2 separate regions of the Homo sapiens genome follow, and region 2 is linked to region 1. Evidence: promoter capture Hi-C in 16 types of primary human blood cells and fetal thymus (Javierre and others, 2016). All regions are on one chromosome and are shown on one strand. Each heading gives the region's core, a stretch centred on a gene start or on the middle of the fragment in contact. The rest is flanking DNA. Distances are from core to core; before and after follow the strand shown.

Region 1 (7,542 bases), core at 1,791-4,290:
TAAGAGCTAGCCTATTCTAGCTCTCAAAAACTTGCAATCAAATGTTGGGCAGGGATGCAGTCATCTGAATGCTTGATTAGGGCTGCAGGATCAATCAAGTTAGTTCACTCACATGGCTGGCAAGTTGGTGCTGGCTGTTGGTGGAGGCTTTTTCTCCTCTCCACATAGGCCTCTTCATAGAGCTGTTCGAGCACAGTGGTGTGGAGACTGCCTTCCTCCAGGGCAAGCAATCAAAGAGAATGAGAGGGAAAGCTGCAATCAGTGTCTTTGTGACCTAACCTCAGAAGTCACACACATTCAATTGTATTCTATTGGTAAAACATAGTAGTCCTGATTCAAAGGGTTGATGCAGACCACCAGCGGTGACAATCACTGGGGGTCCTCTTAGAGGCTGGCTACCAAGGATCCCAACATCTTTTTTGTTTGTTTGTTTCTGAGACAAGGTATTGCTATGTTGCCCAGGTTGGAGTGCAGTGGCTATTCAAAGCCTCTAACTCCTGGGTTCAGGCAATTCTCCTGTCTCTGCCTCCTGAGTAGCTGGGACTACAGGCATACAGCACCTCGCCAGGCTAATCCTAACATCTTGGTTTTCCTGTAATTTACTTTATAAAGCAAGTACTGGGTGTGCACAGTGACCCATGCCTGTAACCCCAACACTTTGGGAGGCTGAAACAGGAGGATCACTTCAGACCAGGAGTTCAAGACCAGTCTCAACAATATAGCAAGATCCTATAACAAATTAAAAAAAAAAGTAGCTCACTGTGGTGGCATGTGTCTGTAGTCTTAGTTATTCAGGAGGCTAAAATGGGAGGATCACTTCAGCCCAGGAGTTTGAGGCTGTAGTGAGCTATGATTGCACCACTGCATTCCAGCCTGTGCAACAGAGCAAGACCCTATCTCAAAAAAAAAAAAAAAAAGGCCAGGCGCGGTGGCTCACGCCTGTAATCCCAGCACTTTGGGAGGCCGAGACGGGCGGATCACGAGGTCAGGAGCTTGAGACCATCCTGGCTAACATGGTGAAACCCCGTCTCTACTAAAAATACAAAAAATTAGCCAGGCGTGGTGGCGGCGGGTGCCTGTAGTCCCAGCTACTCGGGAGGCTGAGGTAGGAGAATGGCGTGAACCCAGGAGGCGGAGCTTGCAGTGAGCCGAGATCGAGCCACTGCACTCCAGCCTGGGCAACAGAGCAAGACTCCATCTCAAAAACAAACAAAAACAACAACAACAAAAACAACAACAACAAAACCAAGTACTGAGAATTTTGCAACAACCAGTACAATTCTAGTTTTGTACCATACTGTTCTCTTAAACACAGCTGTGTTCTCAAACACATACGTGCCCATGGGTGCACTCAAGCATAACAGATTTTGTTTGGAGTTGCACAAATTAAAGACCCTTTGGTACAGTGTCAGCTCATTAGGGCACCAGATTCCATCTCAAACTCTGAATTTGAGTAAGCAGAGTTCAAGGTTGCAGATTAAGGGCCAAAATCTTTATTCTTTGTATCTACTTTGCAATTAGTTAACTGGGAAACACTTCAAGTTTTACCAGAAACCTTTAATTTTCTAGAAACCTTTACCTGTGTTCAATATCCACTTTAATTAAAAAGCTCTTGTAAATGATACTTATTTGGGGAAGGTGATTCAGCTTGTCGAGGGGTAATTAACCAAATTGCTGAGGTGGAAGTCTGGGTAAGTGAAAAGGTCATCAAATCTGAGTAAGAAAGCTTGCAGCTTTCACCTCTCCGTCAAGACTGGCAGAGAGGCACTTTCGTAAAATCTTTGTTTGGGATTCACTTTTACTTCGCCACTTGTCCCATTTTAATTAAAGCTTGCCAACTGAAGGACCTAAGAAAACAATATAGTTCTGCATTTTGCCAAATTGGGAAATTTCCAGGGCCCCCAAAATTTAGCGGGGAGACTCAGAGACTAGAATGGGAGAATAGGAAGCACCAACTTGCTCTAAAAGGAAGATTGGGTAAAAGCAGCACTCTTATTCCAGCTCTACAACCAAAGCAACTAAGACTTGGGCTGGCTGGCTGCCTAGCCACAGCATTCCCTCCTACTTCCCCATTATCTCCTGACCAGCAAGTCATCTTTGGTCACATATCTTTAATTATTTAGTTTGAGACAAAGTCTCACTATCACCCAGGCTGGAGTGCAGTGGCGCGATCTCGGCTCACTGCAACCTCCGCCTCCCGGGTTCAAGCGATTCTTCCACCTCAGCCTCCCGAGTAGCTGGGACTACAAGCGGGCACCACCATGCCCGGCTAATTTTTGTGTTTTTAGTGGAGATGGGGTTTCACCATGTCGGCCAGGCTGGTCTCGGACTCCTGACCTCAAGTGATCCGCCCACCTCTGCCTCCTGAAGTGCTGGGATTACAGGCATGAGTCACCAAGCCCGACTACATATTCCTTTTATTAATATTCCTGTTGAACTTAATTTTGGTCGTTTCCGGTGCAAAAATGTTAAGGTAAAGGGAATCAATAACAGCCACATTTGATGTATTTTTGTAATCCCCATCTCCAATTTCCATCCGGGCCTGAGTAACCAAAAACACTTTACAGGGGTAGACTGTCTCAACAGACATCAATTTGTAACCGCGTCTACCTCTACCACGGTATTCTAAAGACTCCGTCGAGGAAAACCTTTAGCTCGGGCAACGGGAGACACATTACAGAACACTGTCCGCCGCCGAAGAAACAGACGATACGCGGGAGAGTTGAACAGACACCCGGCCTCGCCCCGATTGCTTCACAGTCCTCAGCCACGCCCCTCCCAACCGGAACTACATCCCCCGCACTCCGCGCCCCCACGCACAGCGTGTCGTAGGCGTCCGAAGCCGCAGGCTCCCGCCCGGCTTCCCGGGACGCACAGGGCAGGCGCTGGGCATGCGCATGCTCGGCAGGCGGGGCAGCTGGAGTCTCCAGGCGCTGCAATCTGTTGCGCCGCCGCCCGCGGGAGCCGGCAGATCCGGGTCTTGTGGCTAAGAGTGACGTGGTCACTCGAATCAAAACAGAGGAGGGGGAGGAAGCCGGCGGCCAGAAACGGCAGTGGCAGCAGCGTCCGGAGCAGCCGCAGCCTTCTGGAAGCTCCAGGCGGTCTTTCTGCCGAGCCTCGGTCCCGGCCCCCATCCTCCCCGCCCCATCGGTTGTTGTCTGGGCGGGTGAGTGTCTCCCCCTCTCCCACCAGCGTTTGCTGGCTCACCCTCCCCTCGCCCCAGTTTTTCCTGGGGGCTCCTCAGGCTCTCGGGGACTGCGGCGGCTGCGGCAGAACAGGGCTGTTTCTCGGGCTTGGCGTTTCCTCGGCCGGGCTGGCGATTCTGCACCGGGAGAAGCTCCGCTGCTGCCGAGCCCGCGTCCCCCGCGAAGAGCCTGCAATTGGGTATTCTCTGCAGGATGTCAGAGTCGGGGCTTTGCAGGCAAGGGCAAGGTAGCCACGGGTGGTTTTATTTTTAGGATCAGATTGTCGACGGGTGGAGGCGTATCATGGAGTAAAAAGAGAGTCGTAGCTGGAAGGAAAAACTCACAAATCCTGAAATCCACACTATCTTGTTTACCGTCTCCCTCAGCCCTTTCTGGGTACGGTGAAGTCACTAGGATGCGTCCTTTGTTGTGATAAGTGAGACGAGAAAGCTGACACCCTGAAAGCGAGAGCTTTTTAGCTCCTATTGTGTCGCGAATTTAAAGGATCCCCTTTTTCTGTTTGCTCAGTAAGTGGAACCAAGGCTGACAGTAAAGAGGTAGCAGCACCCTTTATTGGAACTAATAGTGTGTGATAAACTGGTTACCGGCTCTACCCGAAGTCCCGTGTTGCTGTTTAAAGGCAGACTTCACCAAAGTGGCTGTTTATATGTGCCAGGATTTTAGCCGAGATGGTTTGCTAGCTGTAGAGAGTCGGTAGGATGTTTTCAGTTGCCCCAGTTGGCAAAACCGAGGCTGTGGCCTTAATAGAATGTGTTACTTTTGCATCGAGAGAGTCGGATGAGCTTCACACACGTAATAGCTACATTTGCAGAAGAGACCTTCCAGTTTGTGTGTGTTATTGTCAGAAACAGCAGCTGTACATATTATAACTTGGAAAGCGTAAGACCTTCCAGGTGTTGGAGTGTTGGGACGCTTAGGAGGCATTCTTGCTGCCCAGCGCTGTGGAGGTTGCAGGAGGCTTTGCATTCCCTTCCACTTAGGGTGGCTGGCCGCGCAGATTCCTTTAGTGTAGCCTGCTCCGAACTTGCCGCTCTCCGCGGCCGTCGACAGCACTGCGACCAGAAAACCAAACCTTTTTGTCCTAACTTTTTTTTTTTTTCCAACGTGGTGTTTAAGAACACCGCTTCACCCCCGAGAACTCATTAATTGAGGTGTTTCAGTGGTTAACAGCAAGAAAGAACAACAGTACGTGATAGTTAATTGCTCCTTATCAAACCCAGGAAGAGTTATGAGTTTAGATTATTTCCTTGAAGGGTATGTCCTTGTGGTATAACATGAACCCCTTAACGAATCTTTTCTCCAGTGTTTGCCGTTGAGATATTTTTTCTTACTACTGTAGTTGGAATCCTTCTGATTTAGAAGAAGGAAAGATTTCTTGAAGTTCTTTTTCAGCTTTTTACCTTTTATGCTAGCCTATAACTAATATTTTTGGTTATACGAAATACTTTGTGTAATAGAGAAGATGTTGATAAAAGCAGATAGGAAAAAAAAATCAATAATCCTGCCACCCAAAGATCACCAAAATGTTAGTTTATACCCTTCTAAACTACTTTTTTGCATTTATATATTTTATACAAATATGGTATCATACCACATATGCTTTTCAGTACATAACCTGCTTTTTCACATTCTAGTACTTCTTTTTTGAGTAATAATTTAAATTTTTCAGACATGGACTTTGGACCTTAAATTTTAGAGCGTATTCACTACACAGTAGTGCCCCCTTATCCGTGGTTTCACTTTCAGGGGTTTCCCGAGTTTCAGTTTCTGTGGTCAACCGCAGTTTGAAAATACAATCATATTTTCAGAGACCACATTCACATAACTTTTATTATAGTATATTGTTATAACTGTTCTATTATTAACTATTGTCAGTCTCTTACTGTGCCTAATTTATAAATTGAATTTTATCGTAGGTGTGTATAGGAAAAAAACAGTCCATATATAGGGTTCTGTACTATATGGGCTTTAGGCATCCACTGGGGGGGGGTTGTTTTATAATTTTTTAATTTTAAAATTTAATAGAGACGAGATCTCACTGTGTTGTCCAGGCTGGTCTCAAACTCCTAAGCTCAAGTGATCTTCTGGCCTCAGCCTCCCAAAATGCTAGGATTACAGGGATGCTGAGACACCAGGTCCAGCCCACTGGAGTTTCTTTGAATGTATCCCTTGTGGATAATGGGGGACTTCTATGTTTGGCAAACCATAATTATTAAAAGCATGGTTTTAAAAGATTTCCTCACAAATCTCTATGATAATGTAACATTTAAGAAATTAATATGCATTGTGTGGCAAAGTAAGACCTCACTTGTTTGGCTCTTGGGAAAGAAAGCACAGCCTGAGGATAATATGAAAGTTTAAGTAGTTTTTGCTACTCAGTGGTTTGATTCGGGTAAAGATTTAGTTCTGTTCCATAGTTATACTCTATTCCAAATGCTGATCAGATGTTCAGGCCCCAGGCAGTAAGGTCCTGGAAGATTTTAACTTTACACGTCACACTTTTTTTTTTTTTTTTTTTTTTTTTTGGGAGATGGAGTCTTGCTCTATTGTACAGGCTGGAGTGCAGTGGTGGATCTCAGCTCACTGCAACCTCTGCCTCCCGGGTTCAAGTGATTCTCCAGCCTTAGCCTCCTGAGTAGCTGGGATTACAGGTGCACACCATCACGCCCGACTAATTTTTGTATTTTTAGTAGAGACGGGGTTTCACCATGTTGGCCAGGCTGGTGTCAAACTCCTGACCTCAAGTGATCTGCCCACCTTGGCCGCCCACGGTGCTGGGATTACATGCGTGAGCCACTTCACCTGGCCCACATCACACTTAATATGCATTGAGTCTTGGTGTGTGCCCATTTAGTCCAGTGCTTTACCAGTTGGCACCAAAAGAGCCTGCTATGGAAGGAAACGTCCTCTTCATCTCAACTTCAGAGGATAAGTACATGCCATGAACTATCCTAAATCTGCTAATAACCTATTTTGAGTTTGAGCCTCATAAACTTACCTAAAATCTTTAAATCTCTATTTTCATTTTGCATCTCTTGGATGATTAGTCCTAGATGTTTACTACTTATTACATAATCTAGTTTCTTTTTCTTTGATTTGGCTTATAGTATTCAATATGTATTCTAAATTTGTCCACTTCTTCCCATCCCTACTGCCATCAGCTTTGCCAGGCTATCTTCATCTCTTACCTGATCTGTTGCAGCAACTCCTGGTCTCCCTGCTTCCACTTTGGCTTTTTATTATGCATTTCCCTTACCAGCCTAAGAGATCCTTTAAAATGTAAATTACCTTGACACCCCCTTGTTGAAAGTTTTCCATCCATATTCAGAATAAAATCCAAACTCTACCAAAGCTTGTCAGGTGCTACATGTTTCAGCACTGCCTTCCTCTCTTATCTTACCTTGTATCCTTCTACTTAGTTCAGTACCCTGGAGCCTGGCCATGTGAGTTTCTTCCTGTATTCTAATCCCACTTGCATTTTTGTCCCTGGAACTTGCCAAGCTGGTTCTTGCTGTAGGGCCTTTGCATTTGCTGAACGCTGGGGCTTCAGTACTCTTCTCCCAGATCTTGCTGTGGTTGATACCATTGTGTTATTCAGGTGTTAGGTCAGATGTTGCCTCTTCAAGGAGACTGACCAATCTCTCCCTTGTATTTTATTTTCTTCACAGCATTTATCAATATATGGAATTTTAAAAAAATGTTCCGTCTCCTACCCTGGAAATTAAGCTCTGTGAATATGGAACCTTGTCTGTCCTTTTCACTGCATAGTAGGTACTCAGTGAATGTTGATTGAATAAATGAACTTAGTGAACATGTCTGTATTCCTCTTGAACATACTGTCTATTGTAGGCCATTTTTTTTTCCCATGGAAAAGTCCTAATTTTCAGCCTCTTTATTGGGCAGTGCCTTATTCTCTTTGGTGTTTGGGTCAGAGTACACTTATATTCTACTTTAGACCTGTGGAATTAATTTCTGTGAGAAATGGGTTCTTAGAATCTGTATTTTCAATAAATCTGTCAGGTGATTTTAATGCATATCAAACTTTGAGAATCTCTCAATGTTTTAGTGGCTTTTCCTTGGAAGATTGCTTCTTTATAGTAGTAATGATAGCTACCATTTTTTGGGAACACTACTTTATATGTCAAGTATTATGCTAAAAATTACTGTTACATGTTTTCATTTAACTGCAAAGCAACTCAGATATGTAGGTATCATACAAATGAAGACAATGAGACACAGTAAGTGGCAGAAACTTGAATTTGAAACCCAAATCTTTTTAATCACTGTACCCTACTGCTTCTGAACTACAGAGTTTAGAATTGTGTTCAGTACTTTA
Region 2 (7,542 bases), core at 2,888-5,387, 290 kb before region 1:
TTAAATTTTTCTATGCTGTTAAAGACAAGCCTCAGACTGGGAGAAAATATTTGCAATATACGTATCTGATAAAGGATTGGTACCCAGAATATATGACAGCTGAAAACACATAAGGAAAAAAGAAAAGAGATTTGGAGAGGCACGTCACCAAGAAAACGTAGAGTAGGTGGCAAATACGTGAAAAGATGCTTAATTTTGAGTTAATTTGTCTCAAAAAAATATTTATAGAGTGCTGGAATGTGGTAAATATTCAGTAAATGTTAATCATTATTAATAGTATTGGTGTTAGTGTTTCTTTTTTATCAATATTATAAAAACCTAGCTGTGGGCAAAAAAACTTAGTTTGATTTTTTCCTGCTCATTTCTTAAAAAAAAAAAAAAAAAGAAAAAAAAAGAAATACTAAGACCGCAATAGATAAATAGCCAGAGGGTATTAAAACACAATCCACAGGAAAAAATTCACACAGACTTACCAAGAAATTGTTTAATTCTCATAAGTGTATGATAAATTAGATGAGGTAAGAAGAGATTAGTCTACAAAGAGCCAATAGCATTTAAAAAGGCCTGAATGGCACAGGGGATTCTGACATGTTGAAGGATCTGAGAGAAAATCAGAGTCATGTTTCAAACACCAGTCAAGCTTTAGTTATGTTATTTTAAGCAGACAGGGAACTTGCTATTTAAAAAGTGATTTGGAATTGCTGGAAGAGCACCCTTAATTCAGGCTTACAGGACTAGACTCCGAGAACACTTCGTATAGCTGGCCCACAAGGAGAGCTGAATCCTGTGCTCTAATCAGAAAGGTGGGAAAATCAGGAAGCCACCCTGGAGCTCTTAAGTAGGGACACACGTTTAGCCGTAATCCAGTGATTAGGAAGTCACCATTGGTATAATTTGGTACAGAGCCTCACACAGTTTAATAGATTAGTACCAGCACAAAATGGATGCTTCTTCCCTCTATCTTCACAATACTAACAGCCAGTTAGTAGAAAGCTGCTGTGTATGTGCCTGCCCGCACACACATACACACAACAGCTCACTCCATACTTGCCAGCTGACAACAGCAGAAACTACACCACCACCTCTTCTGAACTTTCACCTTCCAAATCTTGAATAAGTGCCTCTGATGGGCTATACGAGAATTATGACTTCAACTCCATTGCAAGGGAATCTAGGAAATGTAGCTTTTATCTTTCCTGCCTCAGTACAGCACATTAAAAATGTGCACAGTAACGACATATTTAAAAAAGGGAAGAATGAATGGAATTTCATTTCTGTTCCTGTGTGGTAAAGCAAAATCTAGTGGCTTAAAATGAATAATTGTTTCTTTCAATTCTGTGAATAGACTTTGTGGTCCTTCTTTTCCATGTGGTGCCTTCTGGGGTCACTGGTTTTTTTTTTAAACAGTTTATTTTAATTTAATAACAATCTGGGAAGTCTGCATCAGCGGTTCTAGTGCAATATCAAGTGCAATTGGGAATTCAGAAATTTCAGTGGAACTGTTAGTTTAGTGAATCTCGTAGGTAAAAATATATGCATGCTTTAACTTTTATTTTATTTTTCTAGAGGTAGCATTTTGTTCTGTCACCAGGCTGGAGTGCATTGGCATGATCATAGCTCACTGCAGCCTAGAACTTCTGGGCTCAAGCAGTCATCTTGTCTCAGCCTCCCAAGTAGCTGAGATTGTAAGTGCAAGCCACCATTCTTGACAATACATACATACTTTTGATAGCACACATGAACAGACCTCTCTAAAATTGCTCTCAATGAGTTCATTCTCAGCAAACTGATCTGGGTCATTCAACATGGTTTTGGTTTTGGTTTTGGTTTTGAGACGGAGTTTTGCTTTTGTCACCCAGGCTGGAGTGCAATGGCACGATCTTGGCTTACTGCAATCTCTGCCTCCTGGATTCAAGCGTTACTCCTGCCCCATCCTCCCGAGTAGCTGGGACTACAGGCACCTGCCACCATGCCCGGCTAATTTTTGTATTTTTGATTGAGGCAGGGTTTCACCATGTTGGTCAGGATGGTCTCGAACTCCTGACCTCATGTGATCCACGCTCCTCAGCCTCCCAAAGTGCTGGGATTATAAGCATGAGCCACTGTGCTTGGCTTCAGCATGGCCTTTTGATTGTTCCTCATGTTAGTGCATGTTCTCTCTTTTTTTTTGAAATGGAGTCTTGCTCCTGTAGCCCAGGCTGGAGTGCAGTGGCGTGATCTCAGCTCACTGCAACCTCCGCCTCCTAGGTTCAAGCGATTCTCCTGCCCCGCCTCCTGAGTAGCTGGGATTATAGGCGCGCACCACCAGGCCCAGCTAATTTTTGTATTTTTAGTAGAGACAGGGTTTCACCATGTTGGTCAGGCTGGTCTCGAACTCCTGACCTCGTGATCTGCCTGCCTCAGCCTCCCAAAGTGCTGTGACCCACCGCGCTTAGCGCTGCATGTTCTCTTTTTACAATAAATTCATGACCATCGGAAGATACCAGTTTGACATACATGGCATCAGGACCTTCACAGCCACCACAGGTTTTCTCCCCTTGGTTGTGTGTATTTATGAAGCTCTACTTTGCTTCTACAGGGTCACTCTTATGGCTAAGTTTAGATGGCAGCTCAATTAGGCCACCTTAGTTCTCTTCCACGTAGTCTATGTGGTATACACAGCCTCTGTTTTTTGAATAGTCTGGGATTCCTAATAGCATGGTGGGTACATTCCCATAGGGGCATTGCAATCTCAACGTACAAATGCTTATCAGGCCTGTTCTTGCATCAGGCTTGCTAATGTCTGTTTGGCCAAAATAAGTCACATGGACTGGGCATGGAGGCTCATGCCTGTAATCCCAGCATTTGGGGAGGCTGAGGCAGGTGGATCATCTGAGGTCAGGAGTTGAAGACCAACCCAGCCAACGTGGTGAAATCCTGTCTCTACTAAAAATACAAAACTTAGCCAGACTTGGTGGCGAGTGCCTGTAGTTCCCAGCTACTTGGGAGGCTGAGGCAGAAGAATCCCTTGAACCTGGGAGGCAGAGATTGCAGTGAGCCAAGATCATGCCACTGCAGTTTAGCCTGGGCGACAGAGCAAGACTCTGTCTTAAAAAAAAAAAAAAAAAAGTCACCTGACCAAATCCAGAGTCATTGTGGAAGAAGACTATATAAGGTATACATATGAGAAGGCATTGTATCATAGCCTCCAAGATAGCTCTGAATGATCCTTATTTCCTTGTATTTACTCCCTTGTATAGTCCCCTGCAACACTGAACGGGGCTGTCCTGAGTAACGGAACAGGCTGTGGTAGAAGTGACAATGTATGCTTTTCAAGGTTAGGTCGTAAAAGACTGCCACTTCATATTTGCTCTCTTGGATCTTGCACCAGGGGAAAACCAACTGCCTTTTCACTTGAGCTGTCTAGAAAGGCCCATGTAGTGTGGAACTGAAGCCTTTCAACAACAGCAAGTGTCAACTTAGAACCGTAAGAATGAGTTACCTTCAAAACACACCCTCCACGCCCAGTCAAGCCTTCAGATAACTGCAGCCTTGACCAGGTACAGCCTCTTGAGAGATTCCAGGCCCACACGACTTAGCTAAGCCACTTTCCAATTCTTCAACCACATATGATAAATACATGTTATTGTTTTAAGGCACTGAGTTTTGGGGTATTTTGTTACATAGCAATAATTAAAAAAAATTTTTTTAGCCTGGGCACCATATGGCAAAATCCCATCCTACAAAAAAAAAAAAGTACAAAACCTAGCCAGGTGTGGTGGCGTGTGCTGTAGTATCAGCTGCTCAGGGGGCTGAGGTGGAAGGAACTCTTGAGCCTGGGAGGTGGAGGTTGCAGTGAGCTGAGATTGCGCCACTGTACTCCAGCCTAGGTGACAGAGCCAGACCCTTGTCTTGGAACTGCTGGGCTCAAGCGATCCTCCTGACTTGGCCTCCCAAAGTGCTGGGATTACAGGTGTGAGCCATCACATCCAGCCCTTCTCTATCTTTTGTTTCACAAACCCTGATTCTAGTTTCTTTGGATTTATCTAATTTCTCAAGATGGAAATATAGATGATTGCATTCTTTCTTTTGTAAAATACACATTTAAGATTATAAATTTCCTTTAAGTACAGTGGTAAGTGCATCCTATGAGTTTTGGTAGTTCATATTTACATTATAATTCAGTTCAAAATATTTTCTCATTTCCGTTATGATTCCTTCTTTTATCAGTTATACTTCCCTAAATATTTAGGGAAGAAATAAAACCAGTCTTACTATCACACTTTTGATATACTATGTTAGAAAAAAAGAGGGATCACTGCTTATTTTGTTTCAAGCCAGTATAATTTAGTACTAAAACCTGATACGGTTGTCTTAAGAAGTTATAAGCCAGTTTCTTTCATATAATTACAAAGAAATAGAAATAATGTAATAGCAAATAAAATGTAATACCTTAAAATGTTATGACCAAGTTGTCTTTATTTTAGCAATGCAAACTTGGACTAAAATAGTAAAATTAGAATGCAAACTTGAATTAAAATTAGAAAATCAGCCATTGGGATTTACTATATTAACAGAATTAGGGAAAAAGTATGATTATCTCAATAGGTGTCAAAAAATACTCAATAGCCCAGGCATGGTGGCTTATGCCTGTAATCCCAACACTTTGGGAGGCTGAGGCAGGCAGGTCGCTTGAGCCCAGGAGTTCGAGACCAGCCTGGGCAACATGGCAAAACCCTGTCTCTTAAAAAAAAAAAACAAAAAACAAAAAAACTTTTTTTTTTTTTTTTTTTTTTTTTTTTTTTGAGATGGAGTCTCACTCTGTTGCCCAGGCTGGAGTGCAAGTGGCACAGTCTCGGCTCACTGCAACTTCTGCCTCCCGGGTTCAAGAGATTCTCCTGCCTCAGCCTCCTGAGTAGCTGGGATTACAGTTGTGTGCTACTGTGCCCGGCTAATTTTTTGTATTTTTAGTAGAGACGGGGTTTCACTGTGTTGGCCAGGATGGTCTCGATCTTCTGACCTCGTGATCTGCCCGCCTCGGCCTCCCAAAGTGCTGGGATTACAGGCATGAGCCACCTCGCCCGGCCCCCCAAATTTTTTTTTTTTGATTAGCCAGGTATAGTGACACATGCTTGTAGATCCACCTACTTGGGAGGCTGAGGTTGGAGGACCACTTGAGTCTGGGAGGCATAGGTTGCAATGAGCTGAGATCGCTTCACTGCACTCCAGCCTAGGCAACAAAGCAAGTCCCTTTCTCAAAAAAAAATAATAATAATAAAATTTTACACTCATGATAAAAAATCTTGGCAGAATAAAAATATAGCTTGAATATTTGACAGTGGCGACAGATTGTATTAGGGTTCTCTTAGAGGGACAGAACTAACAGGAATACACACACACACACACACACACACGCCCCAATAGGATATGTATAGGAGATATATGTATGTAGGATATTAATGGGATATATATATATATATATATATATATATATATATATAGTTTATTAAGTATTAACTCACAAGGCCCCACAATAGGCTATCTGCAAGCTGAGAAGGAAGGAGAGCCAGTCCGAGTCCCAAAACTGAAGAACTTGGAGTCTGATGTTTGAGGGCAGGAAGCATCCAGCACGGGAGAAAGATGTAGACTGGGAGGCTAGTCCCGCCGTCCCTTTTCATGTTTTTCTGCCTACTTTATATTCGATGGAAGCTGATTAGATTGTGCCCACCAGCTTAACAGTGGACCTGCCTTCCCCAGCCCACTGACTCAAATGTAATCTCTTGGCAACACACACACAGGCACACCCAGGATTAGTACTTTGTATCCTTCAATCCAATCAAGTTGACACTCAGTATTAACCATCACACAGATTAAGTAAACTGTGATTTATAATTAGAGAATCATTTTTAAGATCTGAGGAAATTATTGTGATTTGATACATAAAGAATTATAGTTATTTGCATAATTACAGAGAAAACAGGCCAGCATAAAGTACACAAAAATGTGAATGGTAGTTTCTGGAGTTGATAAATTATGGATTTTTCTTTTATTTTTTTTCATGATTCTTTGCATTTTATAATGATTCCAAAGTGTGCATTGGTTAATTTTATAACCATAAAAGCAGGTTAATTAAATGTTTTAATTAGAAATACAACTGCATTAATATAATTTTAAAATGCCTTTTTTTTTTTTTTTAAAGACAGTGTCTCACTCTGTTGCCTAGTCTGGATTGCAGTGGTGTGATCTTGGCGCACTGCAGCCTCCGCCTCCTGGGCTCAAGGGACCCTCCTATCTCATCCTCCTATGCAGCTGGGACTACAGACACATGCTACCATACCCAGCTGGTTTTTGTATTTTTTGTAGAGACAGGGTCTTGCCATGTTGTCCAGCATGGAAAATGACTTTTTATTATGAAGTGTAAAACTCATTAAAGCATGAAATGAAATAGCAATTTTAAGGAGCCTGAAGAAGGCTCCTTTAATAATAAAATATAAAAGAAGCATAGTTAATGATGTTGCCAAATATCAAATGAATGTTATTGTCCATATGGGGCCAGGAACTATCTGGGCTAGATTTAAAATGAATAATAAGAGGCTTAAGTTCCTCATAAATGAGGTACTAGTGCAGACAATGTGCCTGAGAAGGTGATACTTGTTTATGGGTTTTTTAGACTAGCCGTTTCATGCTTGTGATCTTTTCTGAAATTCTTAAATGAAGATTTATAAAAAGTTGACTGTGAACTGTCTGGTGGCCACCGATTGCTAATGGAGATGACTTTTTTTTTTTTAAATCACATCCTCCACTGATTTCTAAATTCCAGGAGTTAATTATTTTGTGTTTTTGTACATTTTTACAGATGGTAGTGAAAACCTTTATGGATATGGATCAGGACTCAGAAGATGAAAAACAGCAGTATCTCCCACTAGCCTTGCATCTTGCATCTGAATTCTTCCTCAGGAACCCCAATAAAGATGTGCGTCTCCTTGTAGCATGTTGTTTGGCTGATATCTTTCGTATCTATGCCCCAGAAGCTCCATATACTTCCCATGATAAACTTAAGGTAAATACAGCCTTTTTCACTTTATTGTATTTTTCATTCACCACTGTTCAGAAGGTATACTTTTATTTTTATATTTTACCTTTATGAACATAGGTTTCATATTAGTCTCTTCATCTTAAGAATATATTGTAAGTTGCAAAATTATTCATTCAGTTAGTATTTCCACAAATGACTGGGTTGCTTGGTTGTTTGATTTGAAGCATAGAAAGGTATAGTTCAAAACTAGTCCCTGTATGCTCAAATCCAATTTTCTGGCTAATTCATCACAAAAGCCCAGATAGCTATGTTCCAGGGATAAATAGCAGATTAATGATACTTTTTAAAATAATAGCATACCAGAATTTACATATTCATATGACTATTTTCCCCTATAAGTTATTCAGCATGCAAAACTATATGCTCATCTTGGTTGTTCTGCCTTTGTTCAAGTGTTTGTGGAACTCTTAACATTGATCTCTTGGGGAGATTTTGTATTTTGAATAATTTCATTCTTGGCAAATTTT

The links. The method cuts DNA at HindIII sites, captures the fragments that hold promoters and counts their contacts. A CHiCAGO score of 5 or more calls a contact.
Region 2: a contact is called between a fragment that was not itself captured here and the fragment with the promoter of SMIM14 in region 1, in 1 of 17 cell types (total CD8 T cells). The highest score is 5.5, in total CD8 T cells.

Annotation. Positions count from the first base shown.
Region 1 is chr4:39,634,363-39,641,904 of GRCh38, reverse strand. SMIM14 (small integral membrane protein 14) reads left to right here and starts at 3,040. Exons shown (of 5, transcript NM_174921.3): 1 at 3,040-3,166. It overlaps SMIM14-DT (SMIM14 divergent transcript), which reads right to left and starts at 2,765. Exons shown (of 6, transcript NR_183845.1): 1 at 2,611-2,765; 2 at 113-211. RefSeq lists enhancers at 14-609, 2,381-3,098. The HindIII fragment of the contact is 4,728 bases long and covers 1,833-6,560 here.
Region 2 is chr4:39,927,458-39,934,999 of GRCh38, reverse strand. PDS5A (PDS5 cohesin associated factor A) reads left to right here. Exons shown (of 33, transcript NM_001100399.2): 3 at 6,836-7,039. Among named protein-coding and RNA genes, the nearest start is that of PDS5A, 47 kb to the left of the region's middle. The HindIII fragment of the contact is 6,990 bases long and covers 643-7,542 here.